2 separate regions of the Homo sapiens genome follow, and region 1 is linked to region 2. Evidence: promoter capture Hi-C in 16 types of primary human blood cells and fetal thymus (Javierre and others, 2016). All regions are on one chromosome and are shown on one strand. Each heading gives the region's core, a stretch centred on a gene start or on the middle of the fragment in contact. The rest is flanking DNA. Distances are from core to core; before and after follow the strand shown. Region 1 overlaps SPARC (secreted protein acidic and cysteine rich). Region 2 holds the start of ATOX1-AS1 (ATOX1 antisense RNA 1).

Evidence for each region. The method cuts DNA at HindIII sites, captures the fragments that hold promoters and counts their contacts. A CHiCAGO score of 5 or more calls a contact.
Region 1: a contact is called between a fragment that was not itself captured here and the fragment with the promoter of ATOX1-AS1 in region 2, in 4 of 17 cell types (M1 macrophages, M0 macrophages, M2 macrophages and 1 more). The highest score is 8.3, in M1 macrophages.

The regions. Positions count from the first base shown.
Region 1 is chr5:151,665,587-151,672,246 of GRCh38, forward strand. SPARC (secreted protein acidic and cysteine rich) reads right to left here. Exons shown (of 10, transcript NM_003118.4): 5 at 5,987-6,108; 6 at 4,078-4,198; 7 at 1,881-2,014; 8 at 775-923. Among named protein-coding and RNA genes, the nearest start is that of CLMAT3, 8.0 kb to the right of the region's middle. The HindIII fragment of the contact is 4,886 bases long and covers 1,588-6,473 here.
Region 2 is chr5:151,749,234-151,756,107 of GRCh38, forward strand. It overlaps ATOX1-AS1 (ATOX1 antisense RNA 1), which reads left to right and starts at 3,847. Exons shown (of 4, transcript XR_007059008.1): 1 at 3,847-4,076; 2 at 4,440-4,889. It overlaps ATOX1 (antioxidant 1 copper chaperone), which reads right to left. Exons shown (of 4, transcript NM_004045.4): 2 at 2,471-2,546. RefSeq lists an enhancer at 437-686. The HindIII fragment of the contact is 3,507 bases long and covers 2,476-5,982 here.

The DNA of each region.
Region 1 (6,660 bases), core at 2,781-5,280, 83 kb before region 2:
ACTCTGGGAAGGTGCAGGTGTAGCTTGCTCCATCTGAGGCTGAGCAGGGGCTCTCACTTCATCACCACAAGAGAAGTTCAGAAGGTAGTGACAGGTTATGAACAGAGTATAAGTCCATGAGGGCAAGGACCATGCCAGCTCTGACTGCTGTTCAATCCCCTGCCTAGAATAGTGCAGGGCACAAAATGCACACTCCATAAGCATTTGCTAACTGGCCAGCTGCCTGCCTGTTCGGCAGTGCAGTTGCACAGGGCCTCATAACTCGTTTGGACAAGGGACAAGAGCCCTCAAACTGGGGGCTTGCAAAATAGACAGGCTTTTTTGGATAACTTCCAGGGTCAGTTGGGCCCTATTGGGGCTGAGCCTTAGGAGGGGGCTTAGACAGTGCCAGGTGGCTGCTCTGCCCCTGGATGTTCTGCTGAAGGACAGGGGGCGTGTGGCTGACCCAACCTTGTCCCCTGCCACCCCTTGGAGCCTGGTACTCCTTCTTAATTCACACTCCTTCATTATCCAGATATCCACGCCTAGTACTTGCAGGATTATGGAGCTATTTTGAGCTCCTACTGACTTTCACCTCAGCATGAGAGTGTCTTATCGGTTTCTTTGTCCCAGGTCCACATCTTTTCTCCAGATGCCTCATCCTTCTGCTCCAATCCCCAGGCAAACTGTGGATGCCAGGGCTTGGAGCAGTATAGGCTGCTGAGAGGCTTTCTGGCCATAGCTAGTGCACCTGCCAGCCTTGAGCTCTGTTCACTCTAGGGTCTGGGGTCTTACCCGTCAATGGGGTGCTGGTCCAGCTGGCCGAACTGCCAGTGTACAGGGAAGATGTACATGTTATAGTTCTTCTCGAAGTCCCGGGCCAGCAGCTCCACGGGGTGGTCTCCTGCCTCCAGGCGCTTCTCATTCTCATGGATCTTCTTCACCTGAGGGAGTAGAGACTGTGTGTGACAAGAGGTCCATGGAGATTGTCTGGACCAGTCGGGCCCTCCCACCCCTCCCAGAAGGCCAGAGCAGGCAGAGACTAGCCAGACCAAAGCTCACAGCGAGGGGAGGGAGGTGTCATAGATGGGTACTAGCATCTCATTCACAAAAATAGAAGCCTGGGATGACCTCAAAGAATTCTCCATATAGCTACCCACATCAAAATCACCTGGCGAAGGCCGGGCACACACTCACACCTGTAATCCCAGCGCTTTGGGAGGCTGAGGCAGGCAGATCACCTGAGGCCAGGAGTTTTGAGACCAGCCTGGCCAACACAGTGAAACTCCATCTCTACTAAAAATACAAAAATTAGCCAGGTGTGGTAGCATGCCTGCAGTCCCAGCTACTCAGGAGGCTGAGGCAGGGGAATCACTTGAACCCAGGAGGTGGAGGTTGCAGTGAACCGAGATCGCACCACTGCACTCCAGCCTGGCAACAGAGTGAGACTTTGCCTCAAAAAAATAAAATAAACATAAATCACCTGGGGAGTATTTAGAATGCAGCTTCCTGGGCCTTGCTTTCTAGAGACACTGTTTCAGTGGCCTGAGATGGGGCCAAGGAATCTGCATTTTATCAGCTTCTTGGGGTAGTTAATATGCTCATTAAAGCTTAAGATCCACAGACTCCAAAGGAAAAAGGAATAGGGCTGTTTGTGTCTCTTTTGTTTAACGTTAGGTTAAGCAAAGGGAGCAGGTCTCTGCTGCAGGACTTCTCAGAGCCTCTAAGATGTTAATGTGCACCACAGCCTCCAAAGGCAGGAAGAGAAGTACGTGTCCTGGTGCTCAGGGGTAAATGCACGCTCCGGAGCAGGATGCCGCCCTGCAGCTGGGGGCCCAGTTCTAGGAATGGGACTGGATCTTCACCAGCACGGGGCCAGCAAGGCCAGAGAGACCACTTACCCGCAGCTTCTGCTTCTCAGTCAGAAGGTTGTTGTCCTCATCCCTCTCATACAGGGTGACCAGGACGTTCTTGAGCCAGTCCCGCATGCGCAGGGGGAATTCGGTCAGCTCAGAGTCCAGGCAAGGGGGGATGTCTAGGTTCCAAACACAAGGGCGGTCAGCACAGACCCTGCCTGGGCCGTGCTCCCCACCCCAGGCCCCCACCCACCCACATACCACCTGCATTGGTGGCCTTGGCACAGTGGCTCAACCTCTCCAGGCCACAGTTTCTTCACAGGACAATGAGCAGAGGAGATTATGTGTGGGAAGAATGCCCTAGAAATGCATTGTGCAAAGGCATGGCTGCTGCTTTCCTCAGCCTAATCTGCTCTGCTCAGGGAAATGGATGGCTCCTGCACCTTACTGGGTGCTGGGCTTTGGGTGTGATCCTAGCTGAGACTGAGCCCATGTTGTTCACGTCAACCACTGGCAGGTGTTTGAAGCTGGGAGGCTGAGGGATCACATCTATCCACAGGCCCAGCTTGGCAGGGAGTGGGGAGTAGAGGACTCAGGAATGTGTAACCACCAGAACCTTCTTAGAAATGATTCCAACCTGGTCTTTGGAACTTAGAATCCCAAATGTTGGACCTGAAGATTTCATCCAAGTCCACACTTTTCTTTTCCTTTTCTTTTCTTTTTTCTTTTTTTCTTCTTTTTTTTTTTTTTAGACAGGGTCTCACTCTGTTGCCCAGGCTGGAGTGCAGTGGCACAATCACGGCTCACTGCAGCCTCAGCCTCCTGGACTCAACCAATCCTCCCTCCTCAGCCTCCTGAGTAGCTGGGACTACAGGCACATGCCACCATACCCAGCTAATTTTTGTATATTTTCCAGAGACAAGGTTTTGCCACGTTGCCCAGACTGGTCTCGAACTCCTGAGCTCAAGTGATCCTCCCTACTCGGCCTCCCAAAGTGCTGGGATTACAGGCGTGAGCCACCGCGCCTGACCCAGGTTCACACTTTGTACTGGACTTATTAGAGGTCAGCATGGAGAGAAGGGACTTGCTCAAGGCCACAATGTCAGAGCCTCATCCAGCATCCAGGGCAGTGTGGTCACCTGGGGGCTTAGGGGTCTGTTCTTCCCTCATCATTGAACCAGGGAAAGTCCCCTCTGTGAGGCTACCTTCATCATCAGCTGGGGTCTGGGAGAGAATATCTGGTGATAAAAACCTTAGGAGTTGAAGTGAGTGGGCAACATGCCTCAGGGAAAGCAAAGCCACTTCATAAAGACTCCTTAAGACAGGCTCTCTAGTCTTGCTGCCCAGGGACTTCCTACCCATGCTTCTTCCCCCAACCCTCCTTTTCTACTCTGTACCTTCTCAATTTCATACCTGGGGTCCCACGAGGAGAACTTTGTTTCCCACCCCCTACATACTTTTCTGCACCCTGTACACCTGAGGTAGGTGAGTGGCTCTCCTCATTGCCATCGGGTGCCAGAATACACAAGACCCACAGTGTGGATGTTGCCTTGGAGGGGGAGCAGGTGTGGTCTTGGGGGTCTCCCATGATAGGGAGGATACTGAACAAGGCACTTGGCCCCACTGAGTTTGCAGCTGGGGTCACTAACCAAAGATCAGACCACACCCTGGCATCCCTCCCCAGACAACTGACTCCCAGGTTTCCAGAAGAGGGTGCTTATCCTCTCTCTTCGGAGGGCAGATAGGAATGTAATGGAGTAAAAGGGTGAAGATATGACAGTACCAAGTAACAGGGCCCAAAGCAAACCGACAGGCATGCCCTTATTTTAAAGCATTCAAAATCAGATATTTTCAAAATATTTTGTAGGCCCAGGTCAAACATCATTTTTGCTTTACAGTGTTGAAGCAAGAAAGATTCAACTTAGCCTGAGAGAAGAAATTCTTCCTCATTAGAGAAATGAAATGCAGTTGTCTCAGATGCTAGTGAGAGACTCCAGAAATCTTCCCTGATGTTGACCTTCCATAATCGCTCAGTCCTTCCCCAGAAAGTGCCCTGAACTCAGAGTTGAGAGGAGCCAACTCATAGACAATTACCTCATTTTATAAATGGGGATGCCGAGACTCAGAAAGGGAGAGAGATTTGCCCAAGATCACCCAGCATGGGGGTGGCAGAGACAGCATCAGTGCCAGCTCAGAGCTCTCTCCCCAAGACAGGAGTCTGGAAGGGCCCAAGGACACTCACATTTGCAAGGCCCGATGTAGTCCAGGTGGAGCTTGTGGCCCTTCTTGGTGCCCTCCAGGGTGCACTTTGTGGCAAAGAAGTGGCAGGAAGAGTCGAAGGTCTTGTTGTCATTGCTGCACACCTGTTGGCAAAGCACAGAGTACCCCCTCCTTCATTCCCAAAGCCCTTCGCTGATACCAATATCCTTGTCCATTTCAGAGATGGGGACACTGAGGGTTAAGCAAGGAATGTCATTAGCCTGAGGTCATATAGTGAGTTAGTGATAGGGCTGGGCCACAAATCCACTTTTTGGGTTCCCAGGTCAATGCTCAGCCCAGGCTGAGAGCCATCGATGGTCTCTGAGCAGAGGCATGACTGAGTCAGTTCTGAGATATAGGGAAAAAAATCCTGGAAGATATTTGAAGAGAAAGTTAAAGACAGGAATGGGAGAGAAACAAGAGTGTTCAAAGAAGAGTTAACATAGCAGGCCTGGAATTGTTATCCTTAGAAAAGGCCTGCTTGTAAGGTCAGCCTGTGGCTGGTGTCTGGGAACTTAGCTGGGAAACAGTTCTCTGCACTGTTGTAAATCTTTCCCTAACTGATAAGAGTGGCTCGCTATGCCTGGACTGTTTGTACAAACAATCTGGTTTATGCTGAACATCTGCTTTCCTTCTGGAAGTGTGAAATTCTGGTGCATGCTAGGCAAAGGGTACCTATGTGACCAGCCTCCAATTAAAACTTTGGGTGCTGAGTCTCTAATGAACTTCCCTGGAAAGAAACATCACTCACATGTGGCTGCCTCTTTGTAGCTGGGGTAAGAATGCACTCTGATGACCCCTCTTGGGAGTCAGTCAGTCTCCACCCAGATTCCTCCAGACTCTGCTAGTGTCTTTTTCCCTTACGATCCAGCTGTATATCCTGAATATGTCGCTGTACTAAACCTTAGGTGTGAGTACAACTGTATGCTGAGCCAATGGAGTCCTAGTCGATCTCTGAACATAGGGGTGGCCAAGCAGAGATGTTGAGGGCTGGACATGCAGTGGCCGTAAGTAGCTGTGTTAGGAGGAGGGGAGCCTGTGTTGAACATCCTGTCCGTACTTATTTAGTATAGCTTATATGTCACTGCAGAGGGAGAACTGATGGGCACTGGTGACTGGGCACTGGGAGTGGGGAGGGGTGAGGAGGAGGAAAATGTTAACAATGATATTAAAATGTGGAGCCCAGAGGCTATGTAGTCTCTGGAGAAACTGAAGATGGAGAAGCCAGATGGGAGGCTGTAGGAATAGTGCTGGCCCTAGATTTGCTGCCATGAGCTAGACTGCCACTAGCATGATGGTAGGCAGGAGCAGGCACTCAAAAAATATTTACTTGGACGGATGGATGGATCCTATTGGAGAGAAGGGACATATTTGAGAGATAATTTAAAATTAAGTAGCATTTATTGGATACTTGTTATGTACCAAACATTTCTGACACATCTCCACAACAGATCTATGAGTTAAGGACTATTTTTATCCTCTCTTTGGATGTGAGAAAACTGAGACCTGAAAAGGTTCGGCAACTTAGCTTAAATCTCACACCTAATAAGTGATGGAGATGAGGTTTGAAGTCAACCTTCAGTTTGGCCCCAGAACCCGTATTTTTGGACCTGATTCTTTGCTGATGCTGTTATACTCTTAGCTCTAAGAGTCTGGCACAGGGCTTGGAACCTGATGGTGCTGTTTAAAGTCTTGCTGGTTGCTGAAAAGATCCAGTGCCAGGCAGAGCACTCTGACTCATCCCCTCTTTCCTGCTGGGACTAGGTCTAGCAAGGGGACTTCTGAGACTGGCACTGCCCCATAGAACCACCAAGCCAACAGTTTCCTGAGCAGACATCCTGTATTCCGAAGTGCCCAATCCCTTCCCCCTGCCCCTGTCTCTCAGCCCTCACCTTCTCAAACTCGCCAATGGGGGCTGGGCAGCTGGTGGGGTCCTGGCACACGCACATGGGGGTGTTGTTCTCATCCAGCTCGCACACCTTGCCGTGTTTGCAGTGGTGGTTCTGGCAGGGATCTGTAGGGCAGAAAGACAAGGGAGTTAGCATCACCTGGACTAGCACATCCACCCCCATCCTACCTGGACAGATCTCAGGGCTGACAGTCCTTGACTGTGGCCCCCACTCTGGGCTTTGGACAGCCCTGAGTCCTGCCTGCTCTTGCACTGAGCCTCACAGTCAACATTTAGGGCAGCAGCTGGTTCAGCCTGGGGATTAGAGGTTTAGCTTGAGATAGAGGTCAGGCACTTCTGGGGGGCTGGAGGCTCAGTCTGGGACCCAGAAACACTAGATACCATATGGCTTTCCTGAAGATTGAAGCAACCATTGTGTTCCTGGGTCTCCATTGAACAATCACAGTGGGGCATTTCTGGATTCCAGAATAAGCTTTCTAGAATGGCTTAGAAAGTCAGCTGTTGACACTGAGCCAGGGAGCTGAGGCCCAACAAAACAGACTTAAGTGGCAGTAAAGGAAAAGGGAGAAGAGCCTCAAAGTCCATGCTGGACAATAGAGCCTGGTAAACACCGGATGAGGTGGGCGTGGAGGCGGGAAGGAACATGACTCAGTAGAT
Region 2 (6,874 bases), core at 2,597-5,096:
CCAGCACTTTGGGGGACCAAGGTGGGCAGGTCACCTAAGGTCAGGAGTTTGAGACCAGCCTGGCCAAGATAGAGAAACCCCGTCTCTACTAAAAATACAAAATTAGCCGGGCATGGTGGCCTGAGCCTGTAATCCCAGATACTCAGGAGGCTGAGGCAGGAGAATCGCTTGAACCTGGGAGGTGGAGGTTGCGGTGGGCTGAGATCACGCCATTGCACTCTAGCCTGGGCAACAAGAGCGAAATTCTGCCTCAGAAAAAAAAAAAAAATTAGCCAGGCGTGGTGGCGGGCACCTATAATCCCAGCTACTCGGGAGGCTGAGGCAGGAGAATCGCTTGAACCCGGGGCAGAGTGGAGCAGGTTGCAGTGAGCAGAGATCATGCCACTTCACTCCACTCTAGCCTGGGTGAAAGAGCAAACTCCATCTCCAAAAAAAAAAAAAAAGAAAAAGAAAAAAAAAAGCATCAACAGCAAAAGCTGATACAGACATACAAGATATACATTCCCATACCACAGCTGGGGAAACCCAGGCCCGAGAAAGAAGGGCCCACAGTCACATGACAAGTCAGCAGCTAGGTTCTTTCCACTGTTTCAGTTTCTTTCAGATTAAGATCCCAGTTTACAGGGCTAGAGGCCAGCCACTGACTTGCTGCGGGACTACGGGCAAGTCACTTAACCTCCTGGACACTGGCATCGACATCCCCATTCCAAAGATGGAAAGTACAGCTCAGAGGACTGCTAATGAGATCACGTCCATGTGGAAGCCATTTGAAAACTTAATGTCATTATTATTTAGGGTTTTAAAAAAGAAAATTTTAGAAGATTGTGTGATAGTTCATGTGGAAGAAAAAGAAAAGAAAAAATCTTAGAAGGCTGACTGAGCACTGGCATTGCCAAAACTCTGATCACAACTCAGTTATTACCTCACTGAGTCCCAGGACCAGATCCCAGTCCTCTCTGGGCCTCAGTTTCCCCAGCTGTAAAATGACAAGGCTGGATGAGACTGATTGTTCAAAAGAGGTGCTTTAAGAATATCTGCATGTGGCCAGGTGCGGTGGCTCATGCCTGTAACCCTAGCACTTTGGGAGACCAAAGCAGGCGGATTACTTGAGGTCAAGAGTTCAAGACCAGCCTGGCCAACATGGTGAAATCCATATCTATGAAAAGTACAAAAATTCACCGGAAATCGCCTGAACCCAGGAGGCAGAGGCTGCAATGAGCTGAGATCATGCCACTGCACTCCAGCCTGGGCAACAAACAGAGTGAGACTTCATCTCAAAAAAAAAAAAAAAAAAATCTGCATGTGAGTGATTCAAAATTAATTTAAATTTTTTTTTTTGAAGTAAAGAAACAGAAAAAGACAAAATTTTAAAAATTTTTACCTTTTTTTAAATCTTTCCTTTTTTTCTTTCTTTTTTTTTTTTTTTTTTTGGAGACAGGGTCTTGCTCTGTTGCCCCCACTGCAGTGCAGTGGCACGATCTAGGCTCACTGTGGCCTTAACCTCCCAGGCTCAAGCGATCTTCCCACCTCAGCCCCCTAAATTAGCTGTGAGTACAGGCATGTAACACCATGCCTGGCTAATTTTTTTGGTATTTTTTGTAGAGATGGCATTTTACCATGTTGCCCAGGCTGGTCTCGGGAACTCCTGAGCTCAGGCAATCTGCCCGCCTCAGCCTTCCGAAATGCTGGGATCACAGGTGTGAGCCACCGTGCCCAGCCCCATTTAAAAAACCTTAATAGAGGCTGCGTAGGGTGGCTCGCGCCTGTAATCCCAGCACTTTGGGAGGCCGAGGCGGGCAGATCACCTGAGGTCAGGGGTTCGAGACCAGCCTGACCAACATGGAGAAACCCCGTCTGTACTGAAAATACAAAATGAGCCAGGCGTGGTGGTGCATGCCTGTAATCCCAGCTACTTGGAAGGCTGAGGCAAGAGAATTGCTTGAACCTGGGAGGCGGAGGTTGCAACAAGCCGAGATTGCACCATTGCACTCCAGGCTGAGCAAGAAGAGCGAAACTCTGTCTCAAAAAAAAAAAAAAAAAAAAAAATTCAATAGAAAATGACACTCAGATGTGTCATGCAGTACACACTGGAGATGACCAACATATGAACTAGTACTGCCATGGCTCCAGAGCTACTCCTGGCAGTACTAGTTAATTTGGCTAAATCCCAGCTCTGCCATTTACTGACCATGTGATCCCAGATAAGTTATTTAATGTTTCTGAACTTCAGCTGTCTCCTGTTTAACATGGAGCTAGTAAAAAAAAAACTATCTGAAATGGCCGTGGTGAGGATTAAATGATGTGATTCACATAAGCCACTAAGAAAATAACAAGAGTAGTTGGCACGTGCTAAGTACTCAATATATTTTAGTTTTACTGTTATGATCAGCTTAACCCTAAGTCTCTCCTGCAACATCTGCATGCATCTGAACATGGCATAAGTGCACCCAACTCAGGGCCACTCACTCACCTCCAAGCTTATTGAGGACCCGAGAGACAGCTTCAGCACAGCCTCCACAGGTCATGTCCACAGAGAACTCGTGCTTCTGAAACAAACACAGGGGGACCATGACCCGAGCCCTGTAGAGTGACCCCCACACAGTGCCAGCAGACAGGCCCACTCAGGGTCAAGACAGAAGACAGAGAGACTGGGCAGGACCTGGTTGGCATCAGACTCATCAGAAGCCTGTTTCTGAGCCCGTCTCTTCAACTATAGAGTAGCTAAGAGTTTCTACCTCACAAGTTGTATTCAATGGAATCATCCCTATAAATCCTTTAGCAGTGTCTGGCACATAGTAAATAGAATCACCTGGAGATCTAGTTTAAAATGCTTTTTCCCAGTCCTACCTTCAAAACACTGATTCTTGAGCTATGAGCTTTGTCTCAGGGCCACCAGTAACTCTGACAGGGATGGGCCCCCATACTCTGAGCAATGCTGATCTGGTGGGCCCACTTATGAACCACAAAATTATTTTCTGCACTAGAGTCACCTACAGCTTGCAAAAACTACAGGTTCTGGTCAGCAGGTCTGGGCTGGGGAATCTGTTATGTCTACTCATTACCCCAGGTGATTCTGCTTTCATCCAAGGGCCGCATTCTCAGAGGCAGCATCTGGGTCCAGGGAAAGAAAGGATTGCCTGGGTTCCCCAGTGGGTTGGAGGCCAGGCAGGAAGGGATCCCCGGCTCCTAGTCTTCATGTAAGCTCTACATTCTACAGTCTCTAGGATATCTAACAGATCAAGGGTCTGAAGGTAAGCTCCCAGAAGACAGAGGTTTTGTTCAGTTCACTACTGGATTCCTAATACTTGGAACAGTGCCTGGACAGAGTAGGTGCTTAAAACTTATTTTTGAGTCAATGGATAATTGACATGGCTGGTTTGAACTTCTGGATCTTTTGCTTTGCTTTCACACAAGGATTACTTATACCAATACTTTATTTTAAAATCTCTGGAAATGAGACCATCTGAAATCAGATAAATATGGCTTCAGATACCAGCTCTGGCACTACTAGTTGCATGATCATCAATATGTTACTTCTCTGTGCCTTAGTTTCCACATCTGAAAATTGAGGGTAAGAGTCCCTCTCTAGATTTGTGAATGGGATGAACACAGGATTTTAAGTACGGTTAGCCAGCATCCAAGATGGCCTCAATGATCTCTGCCTCTGGTATTTATGCCCTTGAGTAATCCCATTCCACATGTCTCGGGTTGGTCTGTGTGTCTTATAGAATATGGCTTGAAGTGAGGTTATGTGGCTTCTGAAGCTATCACAATGTCATAAAGGACACTGTGACTTCTGTCTTGCTCCATTTCTGGGGTCACTTGCACTAGAGGAAGTCAGCTACTAAATTACAAAGAAATTCCAGCAACCACAAGGAGAGGTCCACAAAGTGAGAGATTGAACCCTCGAGCTAACAAGCATGTGAGTGAGACATGTTGGAAGTGGATTCTCCAGCTCCAGTCAAGCCTTCAGATGAATGCAGCTCCAGCCAACATCTCACTGCAGCTTTATGAGAGCCTCTGAGCTGGAGCCACTAGGCCAAGCTGTTCCCAAATTCCTGACTCTCAGAAACTGTGTGAGTTACTATAAATATATTTGTTGTTTTATACTACAAAGTTTTGGGATAATTACTAAGGAGCAATAGATAACTAACACATTAAGGAAATTAGAGCCTAGTACTAGGTTCCGTTGGGTAAAAGGTTAGCTATTGGATTATTAATTTCTTCCATTTGTCTCTCCTGTTTCCCTTCAAAAATCAATGGCTACATTTTTCATGGAGCACTTCAAAATATTTGAAGTCTATTACCTCAGTTGGAATCCTGGGTGTAGTGATATATCTTGCTAGAAAACCACAGGCAAAATCTCTGCTCCAGAAGGGCTCCAGTTCCCTAATCTATACCAAAAGGGTATTAGCTAACTCAATTTTTTTCAACTTTAGTGTGCATAGGAAGAATCTGGGGACCTTGTGGAAAGTGCAGCTCCCAGACACCTGCCTCAACTGACTCTGTGGATGTGGAGCGGGCCCTGCCACTCCCCATTTTTAACCTACTGGGGAGAGAACGGGAGGCAAAACTACAAACCTGAAAATAAAGTGGCTAAGTGGCTTCTCAAACTCTTTCCAAGTCTCTAAACACCGCTGAGTCTGGATTGTCACTGTGCTCTACAGAGGAAACGAAGACCAAGAATTAAGCAGCTCGATTTTCCAGTGCAGACTGTTTGACCTTTGTGACTAGTAAACCACTCCTTTTATTAAGGCCAAATCTGCAAAATCTGTCTTAAAGAAAATGGTCAGTCTTTCCTTTCTTCTAAACATCTCTGATTTTTTCATCTTGTTTCCTGACTATTCACAGACAGCAACAATAACAGATTCTGGAAAGAAGGATTTGTAGTAAGTATTACAAAATCTTGTCTTTAAAATGTGGTCCTCAGCCCAACAATATGAGCATCACCTGAGAGCCTGTCAGAAATGCAGAATCTCAGGTCCCTTCCCAGAAGTCCGGAATCAGAATCCTCATTTTAACAAGACACCCAAGTCATTCCTCCCCACATTACAGTCTGAGATGATGCTCTCCTCTATTAAAAAGTTTTTTTAGGCTGGGCAATGTGGCTCATGCCTATAATCTCAACACTTTGGGAGGCTGAGGCAGGTAGATCACCTGAGGTCACAAGTTTGAGACCAGTCTGGCCAACATGGCAAAACCTGTTTCTCTACTAAAAATAGAAAAAAAATTAGCCAGGCATGGTGGCAGGTGCCTGTAATCCCAGCTACTTAGGAGGCTGAGGCAGGAAAATCACTTAAACCCAGGAGTTTGAGACTAGCCTGGGCAATACAGTGAGATCATGGCTCCATTTAATTTAAAAGAAAAAAATTGTTTTGGAAAAAAAAATGATGATGCTCTGGAACATGGATTGGCACACTACAAACTACCTGTTTTACAAAGAGTTTTGTTAAAACATAGCCCAAATCGGGCCAGGTGTGGTGGCTCATGCCTGTAATCCCAGCATTTTTGGGAGGCTGAGGCGGGAGGATCACGAGGTCAAGAGATCGAGACCATTCTGGCCAACATGGTGAAACCCCATCTCTACTAAAAATACAAAAATTAGCTGGTAGTGGTGGCATGCGCCTGTAGTCCCAGCTACTCAAGAGGCTGAGGCAGGAGAATCGCTTGACCCAGGAGGCGGAGGTTGCAGTGAGCCAAGACCATGCCATTGCACTCCAGCCTGGCAAGAGAGCGAGACACCGTCCAAAAAAAAAAAAAAAAAAAAAGAAACACAAAAACAAAAAACTACAGCCAAACTCATTTGTTTACTTTTGCACTAGAATGGCAGAGTTGAGTAGTTGTACCAGAGACCCTATGGTTTGTGAAGACTAAAATGTTTACTATCGGTGCCGTGTAAAAAAAAAAGTTTGCTGAGTCTTGCTCTAGGATAACCAGCAGAAAATCAATTCATCTATGGTTTGTACTTATATACTGAGCCAAAGCTTTGAAGGGTTTGCAAGATCAACATAAGAGCTAAATCTACTGATTGTCTATTACATGTCAAATTATCTTTGTACAGTATCTAAGTTAGTCCTCACTGAGCCTGGAAAGAGAGCTATTTATCTTATTTCACTCAGGAGGAAAGTGAAGTTCCCAAGAGTTCACTAGGTAGCTTGCAGTCATGTGGCAAATAACTACTGAGTATGGAATATGAACCTAGGCTTTCTTCGCTCCAGGGAAATCTTGCTGGTTCTGGAAAAGCAAAGTACACCGCCAGCCCTCATAACCCTGACTCTCAGCAGAAGCTCTGAAACTAGAAACACATTTTTAGGGAGCACAGTTTTTTGCTGCCCAAGGACCTAAAGTCAACAGATACCTGAAACTTTCTGTCGCTGACTACAGGGAGTAGGTCCCATCCCCCACAGTATAAAGGTCAGAAGCCAGAAACCAGCTTCTGGGTATAAACATTACAGTTCAGTGCTCTCCTCCTCCACCTCTGAGGGGCAAAAATAAATTTGAGGGTGATGGAAAATCTATTTCATGGACAGAGTAATCACTTCTTTATAGGAGAATCTCAAGATTGGCTCTACCACCAGATGCATAACTGGGTAGTTCTGGTTCCTCATGGCCTCTGGGGTCTTTTATAAAGACTTATAAAATGGGTAGATTTTAAAAGCCAGTAGGTTTAAAGTAGGTTTTTAAAGTCAGTAAGTGGGATGATTCTTTTTTTTTTTTTTTTTTTTTGAGACTGAGTCTCACAGTGTCACCCAGGCTGCAGTGCAGTGGCACGATCTCAGCTCACTGCAACCTCCGCCTCCTGGGTTCAAGCGATTCTCCTGCCTCAGACTCCCGAGTAGCTGGGACTACAGGCGTCCGCCACCATGCCCGGCTA